Linked DNA regions of Homo sapiens: region 2 is linked to region 1. Evidence: promoter capture Hi-C in human tissues and cell types (Jung and others, 2019). All regions are on one chromosome and are shown on one strand. Each heading gives the region's core, a stretch centred on a gene start or on the middle of the fragment in contact. The rest is flanking DNA. Distances are from core to core; before and after follow the strand shown. Region 1 holds the start of CMTR1 (cap methyltransferase 1). Region 2 overlaps ZFAND3 (zinc finger AN1-type containing 3).

The links. Contacts are between HindIII fragments. The study calls those that stand out against the background at their distance.
Region 2: a fragment that was not itself captured here is called in contact with the fragment with the promoter of CMTR1 in region 1 in 1 of the 25 tissues and cell types used here (spleen).

What each region holds. Positions count from the first base shown.
Region 1 is chr6:37,429,368-37,435,906 of GRCh38, reverse strand. CMTR1 (cap methyltransferase 1) reads right to left here and starts at 2,686. Exons shown (of 24, transcript NM_015050.3): 1 at 2,530-2,686; 2 at 145-283. The coding sequence starts at 277. LOC107986531 (a long non-coding RNA gene) reads left to right here and starts at 2,684. Exons shown (of 2, transcript NR_171666.1): 1 at 2,684-2,856; 2 at 2,972-3,679. RefSeq lists a silencer at 2,341-2,530 and enhancers at 2,531-2,810, 2,503-3,004. The HindIII fragment of the contact is 6,430 bases long and covers 410-6,539 here.
Region 2 is chr6:37,918,175-37,924,727 of GRCh38, reverse strand. The region is part of intron 1 of ZFAND3 (zinc finger AN1-type containing 3); the gene reads right to left. Among named protein-coding and RNA genes, the nearest start is that of ZFAND3, 100 kb to the right of the region's middle. RefSeq lists a silencer at 118-187. The HindIII fragment of the contact is 3,924 bases long and covers 3,058-6,553 here.

The sequences.
Region 1 (6,539 bases), core at 1,437-3,936:
TAGCCAACATCTCTCTGTAGAGTATTCCTAATTTTCCTCAAGGGACCAAGGGGCAGTGGACTATAGTCTGCTCCACCTAGATTAGACACTGTGTGTTCAAATAACCAGATGGCCAGTGGCCTCAGACCACACAAGCACACGTACCTTTTGCTCCATGACTGACAGAGGAGGGAGGTTCATCATCGGACGTGGAGCTGAGGCTCAGGGCAAGCTCTGCAACTCTTTTTTTCTGTTTCTTGATGGGGGCAGTGCATTCTGGGTCAGTTCTCCTCTTCATCGTTAACTGTAACCATAAATCCAGTCAGTCAGCTGCCCTTGGGTCACAGCCACTGGGATCACAGCAGGGATTCCAAAGTGTAAATCATCAATGGGATGAGATTTGGCAATTCTACACATCTTCCAGTGCCAGCACTTGAATAGCCTCTTCCTCAGAATGAGGTCTAGGAAGGATGCTAGACAAGTGTTGGTTTTCAATAATAGCTGTTTTACTGGAAAATGTGGTGCTCACAGACTGAGAGAGCCCTGGGCCACTGGTGTCAGATAACAGAAAGTCATGGATCAACTCCACAAGCCACTGGGGGATAAAGCCTTGGTACCTGTAGTTATTCTACACTTTTGATGCAATATTGGCCATGCATGACAATGTACACTGAAAATGAACTATAAAACCGAATAAATATTAACCAATATTCCCAAGGTGAAGGGACCATCCCAGAATGACTGTTTCATCAGCATTATTTTACCAAAACAATTAAGAAATTACATAATATCATAAAAATACTGGTTTTGGTTTACTTCATAATGTTTGAAAACATGAAAGAATTGGGAAAGTTTTTAAGCAGAGTAGGGAATGGAAGCAGTGAAATGACTTAAGACCGAGGAAACACAAGAGCGGGAAAGTTATTGGGACTGGAGGTAGCTATACCACAGAACTCAGTTACGAAAACAACAATTTTAAGGACAGAAATCCACCTCCACAAAAAAGAGTGGAAACCAGCTGGGCGCGGTGGCTCACGCCTGTAATCCCAGCACTTTGGGAGAAAGAGGTGGGCGGATCACCTGAGGTCAGGAGTTCAAGACCAGCCTGGCCAACATGGTGAAACCCCATCTCTAGTAAAAAAAACACAAAAATTAGCCGGGTGGTGGCACATGCCTGTAGTCCCAGCTACTCAGGAGAACCGCTTGAATTGCTGAGGCGGAGGTTGCAGTGAGCCGAGATCACACCACTGCACTCCACCCTGGGCGACAGAGCAAGACTCCGTCTCAAAAAAACAAAAAAGAAAGAAACAGGCACCATGCCACCATCAATCATCCATCCCCATGGTTAGGTACATGAGAGATAAGCACGAGAAAAAAATAAGATGGAATGAAGTGATTATGAAACCCTGAAATCTTAACGAATTATCAAGTTAAAGAGCAAGCAAGAGAAGTAGTGAATACAGTGTGGCTTACACACAACTGATTGGCTGTAGAGAACTCAGAAAAGAGGACTCAATACAGGGTGGGCGACAAGCTGGGAAACAATCCTTAGGGAAGGCGAGGTACAGCAAGAAAGTATTGAAACCCAAAAGTGTCACTGATGCTCCCAACCTCGTAAAACCCTGGATCACATGTTTCAGTTCTCTCCAACTCAAGGAAGAGCCAATCAACCCAATGCACAACCGCCACCTTCCTGAGAAAGCAGCCTCTTACTAGATACAGGCAGGGGCTGTCCCAGGGAAGAACCGGAGACACTGAGCAAACAGAAAGCAAGACCAAGCTAAGCCACATTTCACTTTAAGCCGTAGTCTTAAATACCCCCAAAAGGCCCCCAGGGTGAGATAAAGGAAGGCTCATCACAGAGCTTGCTTCTAGCCATTGCAAGCGCTAAAAGCTTTTAATTCTTAAGTGACTCGGGGGGAGACTGGAAGTACAGCAAACTCAAAGCGGACTGTTGAACAGCTGTGTGAAAGGCAGGAGAGGCGGATGCTCCTCCCCAAACCACATCACCTTAGATTTGGGCCTTCCAAATCATCTCATCCAACCCTATCATCTTCCACGGGAAAAGACTGCGGCCACAGAGGTGAAGGCCACACAGCTAACCAGTGCCCTGCTCAAGTGACCCACACATGCCAGCAGAATGCTCTGGCAGGGAACTTCTAAGCGGAAGGCAAGCGGCCTGGTTCTACCTGCTGCTTCCGCACAGAAGGGGTTCAAATCCCCTCTGCAGTCTTCTCTCCCTGGGCCTCGGTTTGGCACTGCCACCCCTAATCACAGAGAGAAGAGATAAGCTCCCATGTCTCCCGGCCAGTCCCTTCATTTGAAGATAACATGAGCGTGTGAATGTGTGCGCAGAGACGTGTGTCAGCGGCAGCTCGGGCTCCAGGGAGCCGGCGTTGGGGGTGGGAGGAGGAGGGAAGACATAAGGGGCCAGAAGGCGAGGAGACCCATAACCGCGGGCGGGGGGCCCAGGCGGCGGTGGAGGGGAGAAGGATGCTGAGCCCGCGCGCCCGCCCGCTTGCTCCCCCCGGGCCGCGCGTCGGCACTCACGCTGAGGGGAGAGAGCGAGCTGCCGGGGAGCGGAGGGGGGGTCAGGCCGACACTGTCGCCGCCGCTGCCAGAGCCGCCGCCTCCTCCCTCAGTTTCGTTTCCCCACAAGCCAGCCCGGGTCCGCCAGCCGCACCGTCGCGCTCGGGTCCAGTACTGCGGGCAGCGCAGCCTGATGACGTCACGGACAGCGCCGCGCCTCGGTCCTCCCCCGGCCGGGTCCCGGCCCCGGGAAAGGCAGCTGAGGTTTGGCCCGCTCCACCTCTCAACCTGGGAGGTCCAGGGGCGCCTGCGCGGAAAAGCCGCCCGGAAAAGGCTGCAAAAGCAAAAGTAACTATCTCCTCCTTTGGCTCTGAGGAAGAGAAACCAATACAAAAATTGTAAGTGCTAGGTGCCCTCACACGACCTCATCTTACTTAATCTTATCATTATCTTCATTTTACAGACTAAGAACAAGTTCAGAGAGGTAGATGGTAAACTGGTTGAGCGAACGCAGTGTTCTTGTTCCCTGCTGTATCCCCAACATCCAGCCTATGGGACATCTCAACAGATTTTGAACGAAGGACGGGAGGACAGAAGGAATGCCGCCTGTAGCATCTTACCATATGGGCACAGTTGGCTCTCCATCTCAAACCTCTCTTCTGATTTTCAGGCCAATATGGCCAAACGTCTGTTGGACATCCTCACTCAGTCACCTCAAACCCCATGAATTCAAATTTCACCTTATGTTCTTCCATCAGCTCACTTTTTTCCTGGTGAAGGGCGCTGCCATCCATCCTGTTGGTCCAGCTAGAAATCTGAGGAATCTCCCTCTTCTTCATACCCCAAAGTTTCTCATACACTTAATTGCGCTTACCTCCTAATTGTCTTTCAAATCCATCCATTCACCCCCATCCCCATTGCCACAATTCATGCACTTACCCCCTCTCGGCAGAATTTCTCCAGTAACTCCAAACTCCCGTGACTGTCTCCAGTTGTGATCCCTCTAATGCGTTCTTCACAAAACCAAAGTGATTTTTATAATTTTCAACACCTGTGAAAAGAAGGGAATTTAAAATTGATTAATTAAACCTGATCCTGTCACAACCCAACAATGATTAAAATCCATCAATGATGTCCCATTGCTCTTAGAATAAAGCTAATGTCCTTAAAATGGCCTCTGAGACCCTCCAGCATGACCCCTTCTTCAGGTATGCCTTGTACTGCTATCCCTTAGTTCTCCCCATGCTGACTCTTCTCAGTTTATCAAATATGCCGTGTCTCCGCCGGGCGCGGTGGCTCACACCTGTAATCCCAGCACGTGGGGAGGCTGAGGCGGATGGATCACCTGAGGTCAGGAGTTCGAGACCAGCCTGGCCAACATGGTGAAATCCCGTCTCTACTGAAGATACAAAAAAAGTAGCTGGGTGTGGTGGTGCGCACCTATAGTCCCAGCTACTCAGTAGGGTAAGTCAGGAAAATCGCTTGAACCTGGGAAGCAGAGGTTGCAGTGAGCAGAGATTGCACCACTGCACTCCAGCCTGGGCGACAGAGCCAGACTCCATCTCAAAAACAGAACACAACAAAACAAAACATGCCATGTCTCTTAAGAGTTCAGCCCCCTGCCTGGATCATGCTTCTCCTCTTTGCTGGGCTAATGTCCATTTATCCCTCAGGAGTCACTTTAGTGTCCCTATCTCGAAATATTTCCTGATGTCACAAATCTAGGTTGGGAGACCCACCTCTGAGCTCCTAAAGCACTCTGTCCTTCCACTATCAAAGCACTTACCACGGTGTTGTATAATGGCCTGTGGACTCATCTGCCTCCCCGACTCAGCTGTAAACTCTGTACAGGAAAGATTGTCTGTCTGTATTAAATTCACAAGATTTAACAGAGGCTGGTGGTCAGTGCTCAATAGATATTTACTGAATCTGTGGAAGTGTGGAATATGAATGAAGGTTGAGTGATATGTTCAAGATTACAGAGCTAGGAAGCAGCAAACAGGTATTTACCTAGTTCTCTATGTTCTAAAGTTTAGTGTCCTTCTTTCCACCTCACTGAGGCTTCTTAGCATGCATTATGACATGAACACTTTTGGTAATCTTGTAGAGCTTATGGACCCATTCTCAAAATAATAATTTGAAGGGTATAAAATAAGGTATAGGAAATGAGTTATATTGAAAAAGTTAACATATTTAGCAAATTTAATGATTTAATTTTTATGTAAAGCATTAAATAATGAGAGAATGCATTCAAAATATAGTCAAGTTAAAGTTAAATTTTATTTTTTAATGTATATGAGTATACCCAATGAATAGTGCTGGAAAAAACAGATAAATATATAGGGAAACACGAACTTTGAATCTTTTTTTTTTTTTTTTTTTTTTTGAGACGGAGTCTTGCTCTGTCACCCAGGCTGGAGTGCAGTGGCACAATCTCCGCTCACTGCAAGCACCACCTCCAGGTTCACGCCATTCTCCTGCCTCAGCCTGCCGAGTAGCTGGGACTACAGGCGCCCGCCACCACGCCCGGCTAATTTTTTGTATTTTTAATAGAGATGGGGTTTCACCGTGTTAGCCAGGATGGTCTTGATCTCCTGACCTCGTGATCCGCCCACCTCAGCCTCCCAAAGGACTGGGATTACAGGCGTGAGCCAACGTGCTCGGCCCACTTTGATTCTTACTTTATGCCAAATGCAAATTAAGATACATCATAGACCTAAGCATAAAATCTAAAATGATAAAGCTTTTAACAGAAAACACAGGAAAATATTTTTGCAGACTTAGGGTAGACAAAGATTTTTTTTTACATGGGACCCAGGGAGCATTAATCGAAAGAAAAATAATGATAAAATGGAGTTCATCAAAATAAAAGGCTTCTACTCAACAAAAGACACCATTAAGACATTGAATAATCAAACCACAGAATGAGAGGAAAAGATTCACAATACATATATCTGACAAATGACTTATCTCTTATATATATATATACACACACACACATATATATATAAAATACCCAAGAATAAAAAGAAAAACAGAAATTTCCAATTCCTGTCAAAATGGAAACAGCACATTTCATTCTGTTTCTCCCACTGAATGTAATTTAAAACCTTAGACAGAATGCATGGAACAACTATCTGAGGATTCTGAAAAGTAAATGGTAAAGTATAAAGTAAATGGCAGGAATATGGAGAAAGGAAACCAGAAGTCAAAGAACTGTCAAATCAAGAGTGAGTTTCCCAATTTTTTTCCCCTTCGTTTTCTCCCAACTTGTACTAAAAGGCAACCGAAAATGCACATATTTTGCACAACAATGCGAATATAGTTAACACTGCTGAACTGTACACTGTTAAATTACATTTGGCTTAAATCTGCCTCCATACATAACATAATCTAATAATATGTAAACAAACTGTAACCTAACTTGAGAGTATATTCTTTTTTTTTTTTTATTATTTTTTGAGACAGAGTCTTGATCTGTCATCCAGGCTGGAGTGCAGTGGCACAATCTCAGCTCACTGCAACCTCCACCTCCCGGGTTCAAGCAATTCTCCTGCCTCAGCCTCCCAAGTAGCTGGGACTATAGGCACATGCCACCACGCCTGGCTAATTTATGTATTTTTAGTAGAGACTGGGTTTTACCATATTGGCCAGGCTGGTCTTGAACTCCTGACTTCGTGATCCACCTGCCTTGGCCTCCCGAGAGTATATTCTTGTAACAAGTATCTGAGTCTGGGCTAATCATAGCAGGTAAACTTTCAGTCAGTCATGGGGATGCAAACTGCCAAAACATGTCCAAATAAGGCAAATGCCAAACTGTAACCAATCAGATTATTTTTGTATGTCACTTCCTTTTTCTATCTATAAATACTGCATGCCTCCATTGGTAGGTAAAGCTCTCTGAAACTTTACTGGTTTGGGAGGCTTCCCAATTCATGAATTGATTCTTTTCTCAAATAATCTCTGCTAAACTTTATTTATGTAAAGTTTTTCTTTCAACAACACTTAAAAATGGTTAAGATGGTAAATTT
Region 2 (6,553 bases), core at 3,770-6,269, 490 kb before region 1:
CACTATAGCCTCCCAAGCAGATAAGACTCTAGGCACACATCAGTCCATTATTTTTTGTAAAGATGGTGTCTTACTTTGTTGCCCAGGCTGATCTCAAACTCCTGGGCTCAGGTGATCCTCCCACCTCAGCCTCCCAAAATGCTGGGATTACAGGTGTGAGCTACAACTCCTGTGGCCTGACCACCCAATTTAAATCAGTTCCTCTTCCTGTTTTCTTCTTTCACATCATTCTTTGATATCTCACCACATGCCTGTTTGCCTGCTATCTTTCACCACTAGAATGTAAGTGCCATAAGAGCAAAGACTCCTTTGGTCACTCTTGGTTGGTATTTAACAGGTACCCAATAAATGCTTGTTAAATGAAGAAATAAAATCTCTTTTGAAGGCCTGAACCATTAAAAAAAAAAAAAAAAAAGCACTTAAGTAGATATTTGAAATGTATTTTGTAGAGGTCAAACACCAGCTAGAAGACAGGTTCTCCACAATTCCTGTGGCTGTCAGCCTGTCATCTTTCTGGAGCTCTGTCACAATGCATTACCTATGGCTGGTAGATAACGTCATCCTATGTATCTGGCCATGATCTGTCACTCAGAATATAACAGGTGGCAGACACTTTTAAAAGTTTCTTTCTAATGACACGGAGTGAGAAATCTGCTTAAATTTTTTTCTTTTTCTAATAATGTTTAATAGTATGTTCTGGTTTTGAAAATACATACCCCTTGAACAGAATGTAGAAAAAAAAACAAAAAGTAAAAACTAAAACTCATTTATAATTCCCCAAAATAAGAAATACTTTTTTAGATAGATATCTATAATTCAGAATTTATTATATTTACAGTATTGGTTGTTGTATGGTATGTTCACAGGTGTTCATTTTATTATGCTTCATACCATATATACACATTACATATAGTCATGCACTGCATAATGATACTTTCATCAATGACAGTTCACATACACAACAGAAGTCCCATAAGATTATTATGCAGCCAAAAACTTCCTGTCACCTAATGGCATCATAGCTGTAGTGTTAGAGCAACACAGTAAACAAACCAACTGTGCTGTCAGTCATATAAAAGTCTAGCACATACAGTTATGTATAGTACATAATACTTGATAAAAAATGATAAACATCTATGTGATTGGTTTGTGTATTTACTATACTTTATATCATTATTTTAGACTGTAATTCTTCTACTTACTAAAAAAAGAAGAGGAAGAAGTAGTTGTTAACTGTAAAGCAGCCTTAGGCAGCTCTTTCAGGAGGTATCCAGAAGAAGGCATTGTTATCATGGAGATGACAGCTCCATACCAATTACTACCCCTGAAGACCTTCCAGTGGGAAAAGATGTGGAAGCAGAAGACAGTGATGCTCCTGACTCTGTGCAGGCCTAGGATAATTGTGTGCATGTCTGTGTGCTGGGGCCTAACAAAAAAGCTTTAAAAGCAAAAAATAAAATATTTTTTAAATAAAGGTGCCAGGCCTGGTGGCATGCACCTGTAGTCCCAGCTACTCAGGATGCTGAGAAGGAAGGATCACTTAAGCCCAGGACTTTTGAGTCCAGCCTAGGCAACAGAGTGAGACTCTGTCAATCAATCAATAAAGAAAACTTATAGAATAAGGATATAATGAAAATATTTCTGTGTAACTATACAATGTGTTTGTGTTTTAAGCTAAGTGTGATTACAAAAGAGTCATCAGTTTAAAATTTTTTTAAAGTTTATAAGGTAAAAAAGCTATAGTAAGCTAAAGCTAATTTATTATTAAAGAAAATTTTAAAAATAAACTTAGTGTAGCCTAAGTGTACAGTGCTTATAACATCCACAGTAACATAATGTCCTAGGACCCTCACATTCACTCACTACTCATTCACTGACTCACCCAGAGCAATTTCCAGTCTTGTAAGCTCCATTCATGGTAAGTGCCTGGGACAGGTGTACACTTTTTTATCTTTCATGCCACATTTTTACCACACCTTTTCTATGTTTAGATACACAAATACAACTGCCTACAGTATTCAATATAGTAACATGTTCTACAGGTTTGTAGCCTAGGAGCAACAGGCTATACCATATAGTGTAGGTGTGGAGTAGGCTATACCACCTAGGTTTGTGTAAGGACACTCTATGATGTTCAACATTTGTTTCCACAATGAAACCGACTAACAGCACATTTCTCAGAATATGTCCCCGTCATGAAGCAATGCATGACTATTTTCTTTTGTGTATATACAAAAATTTCATAAAGAAATGCATAATGAAAATCTACAGATATCATTTTTTCAATTTACATTTACATTTAATATTTATCACGCCTTAAATATTCTTCAAAAACATGTGTGTTGCTCTGTGACAATCCATTACATACTAATACTATAATGTAGTCACACTCTTACTACTGTTGGATGTATAATTGTTTTTCCCCAATTTTTCCTATTATAAATATTGCTATAATGAGCATTTTTGGACTTAAATCTTTAATCATAAATCTGTATTTGAATGGCTTTAAGACTGATTCTGAGAAGGAGACCTTACTAGATGAAAAAGTATATTTTGGTAAATATTGCAAAATTACCTTCCAGGTAAGTTCTACATACTATTTTGAATACATCTTTGCCAACAACGTTTTATTTTATTTTATTTTATATTTTATATTTCATTTATGAGACAAGGCCTGGCTCTATTGCCCAGGCTGGAGTGCAGTGGTGTGATCTCGGCTCACTGTGACCTCCGCCTCCTGGGCACAAGCCATCCTCCCACCTTAGCCTCCAAAGTAACTGGGACTACAGGTACATGCCACCACACTCAGCTAATTTTTGTGTGGGTTTGTTTTTTTTTTTTTTTTGCAGAGATGGGGTTTTGCCATGTTGCCCAGGCAGGTCTCTGACTAGTGAGCTCAAGCAATCTACCTGCCTCAGCCACCCAAAGTGCTGCGATTACAGGTATGAGCCACTGCACCTGGCCAACACTGTTGTACTTTTTAATTTTTACTTGATGGCAGAAATGATTATGTTGTTAAATGTTTCTTCTAAATTTTTTTTTCAATTTTGAAGGATATCAATGTTTTAATGACAAATTAGCCTTCATGCTAATTCATCTTGGGGAATTCTAGTAACAGTCCTAATTTCTGGGAATTCTGGAAACATCTTATAATATTTTCCTGACACATACACAAGACTACTATCTCTCCCCACTCAGAGAAACATACACATGCAAAAAACTATTTTAATATAAATATGGAAATAAAAAACAACTCTTTCACCATATCAATGTTCCTCAACAACTTTTTTTTTTTAACCCAACTGGAAGGAAAAACCTAGGGCACAAGAAAAATAGAGAAAAGTATAAAAAAAAACAGTACCAGCACGTAAGTATACCAAGCTCTTCCAGTCCTATGGTCCCTGAACTTCTCTACACTAGACATGTATCATAAAACTAAAAAAATCTAGACTACAAAGAAAGTTCCTTCTTCAGTGAAGGGAGTCAATCTGTAAAAACTGTCACATTTCTAAAAACTAGTCTGTAAAAACACAATCTGTAAAAATTAGTCACATTTCTGAATTCAACCTCTTCTAATAATCCAGACAAAGGAGGAAAGGGGAGGGATGGGTAAGAGGACAAAGAGAAGGAGAAGGCGGCGAGGAGTGGGGTGGTAAAGGAAAGGAAGGGAAAAACAAACCACAATACCTACTACACTCTAAGTCATCCCAGTTTTCTCAGAGGTAAAATTAGAATATTAAAGACTCCTAACAATCTGCTTCCCGCCTCATACACATATAGCCAGAAAAACTAACTTCCTACAGCAGCCAGGAAGCAGCCAACAGCTCTACTAAATCACCACTCTCTACTCACCCTAGGCAAACACGAAAAAGACCAGTTCAAACAGATGACATCCTAGCTGGCAATGACAAAGGAGGCTTTCAGGGGTGCAACCAGCCTGTCCAAACTGTTACACATCACTCTAAATCATTCAGACCATGTCTGCAAATTTTCTTTTTAAGGAAATATTACAATGGAGAAGATGGAGCTGTTAATAAGGGTATTAGTTTCTATAATGTAGCAATATGGATCCTGCTCACTTTAAAAACTAATTTTAATGTAACAATTTAGATTCCAAGTGGGTTACTGTAATTAGCAGTGGTTTTAGCATTTTATGCCCAAATTCAAGGACAGCAGAGCAAAATGCCTCGATTTTTGTGTGTTTCAAGTACTTGCACTAAAAGTTATAGTGTATAGATGTAAAACTAGTCCCATTATCATCTGTGGCCCTGTATATATTACTGAAAGTTTAGTCCAGCACCATCTAACAATTACAGACAAGATGAGGCATGGCCATCAATAAACTAGTCAAAAGAAGAACAAGAAAAATTAAAATATATGAATGAAAGCCCCTGTAGAAAAGGAGAAAAAAAAAAACAATGAAGTGAATTAAAATGCCAAATAATTTTTCCACATAAGAGAAACTTAATGAGGCTATCAACTCTAACACACCCAATATATACAATGATTGCAACTGTCCCACTATATATCCCCAAACATAAGATAAGGTTTTCTTCCCTAAAGTTATCTTTCAGAAAGAAGGAATTGCTTTACAATTAAATCCTTACTTTTGAGGCAGACACCAATTATTTTATACTAAATACTAACAAGGGCCAAAAAAAAAAAAAAAAAAAAAGCTTCAAAAAAAACCTGGAAGTGAGAAAGAGAAATCCAAGTATGCAGTCATGCCCAGGGAAAGGAATGGTGTTTGGGATTTCAAAAGAGGAATGTAGAGTCCCAGTCCCAGAGGCATCTCTCCAGTTAGTCTGTGAAATGGCTGAGACAGTGAAGTTCTCATCACTAGTCAGGGACACTGAGGTATGGAAGGATGTCAAGCCAACTCTAATATTGGATACTTTGTCATGGTTACAACAACAAACTAGTTTTATAAAAAGGGGAGGATTCGGTTTTAAACACAGATTTAATACTTATTTCTGGAGAGTGATTACAAATAGTAGCTGCCATTGAAGAAGGCCTCTGAAGATCTTCTAGAAAGCAATGCAGTAACAGCCTTGAAATGTGAGGAAGATCATAAATGACGTCAAGATGATGACAACTCTCCTAATGTTACATGAATGAATTCTTGTGGCTTGGGATAAATTTTCCAGTGACTGCAACATTTACAGATTTTAAAGTGCTTTATCTCAAACAACTTGGAGGCTAAAAAAAAAAATGAATGTGATATTCTCTGAAAAACCATGGTCAATAACTTTTAAAACGGCTTGGTAAATATTAAATAATAATTTGGTAAATATTGAAGTCTGATGTCTGTGCAGACATGGAGAATTTAAATCTGTTCATAACTAGGAAAAGTAACATTTTAAAATTTATATTACGAGCATATACAAATTACATATAATTTTATATAATCCATGACCTTTAAATATGCATGTGCAGTTACCATCAGGACAAAATGGGTGAACATATATATAAGATCTCTCAGCCCGGCGCGGTGGCTCACGCCTGTAATCCCAGCACTTTGGGAGGCCAAGGCAGATCATGAGGTGAGGAGATTCAGACCACCCTGGCCAACATGGTGAAACCCCGTCTCTACTAAAAATACAAAAATTAGCTGGGCGTGGTAGCGCATGCCTGTAATCCCAGCTACTCGGGAGGCTGAGGCAGGAGAATCACCTGAACCAGAGAGTCGGAGGTTGCAGTGAGCCAAGATTGCGCCACTGCACTCCAGCCTGGGCAACAGAGCGAGACTCCGTCTCAAAAAAAAAAAAAAAAAAAAGGCATTTTTCATGTTTTGAAAACACACAGAAAACTTCCCAACCATCTAGTACAAGAGCAAGTATCTGAGAATTAAACTGAGAATGACAAATTTAAGAGAGATAACAATAAGGTATTATCTGACCTTATTTTTCTTCTGGCTAACAATGTTGCTTTTGAAAATAGGTGGGGTTGGGAGAACAACAACATTTATGGAGCTCAGAGTACTTTTTCCCAAAGTGTGTCAAAATAATTAAATATTCACCTGTCCTACCCAAGTGCCAAATATTTTTGCTTCATCCACTCATCCACTCTCATTAAGATAATTCAGGCTTACAGAGAGAGGCTCTGATTTATCCATATTTATGGTAAATTAAATCAAAGGCATGATAATTTTAATGAAAGATGAAAAGTAACCTAAAGTATTATTATTAGATCTTTCCTTGTCAGAAAATGAGACATAAACCTGGGAGATAATAGAGTTACAAGGGTTCAAACTACAAGGTTAAACAGGCTAGCAAGGAAGCTGTATGGCTGAGAAAGAAAAGCACAAGGTACTTCTAGAAGCTGGAGGATATCCAGGAAAAGACATCTACACAGGCCAGGCGCAGTGGCTCACGCCTGTAATCCTCGCACTTTGGGAGGCTGAGGCAGGTGGATCACAAGGTCAGGAGATCGAGACCATCCTGGCTAATATGGTGAAACCCCATCTCTACTAAAAATACAAAAAATTAGCCAGCGTGGTGGTGGGTGCCTGTAGTCCCAGCTACTTGCGAGGCTGAGGCAAGAGAATGACGTG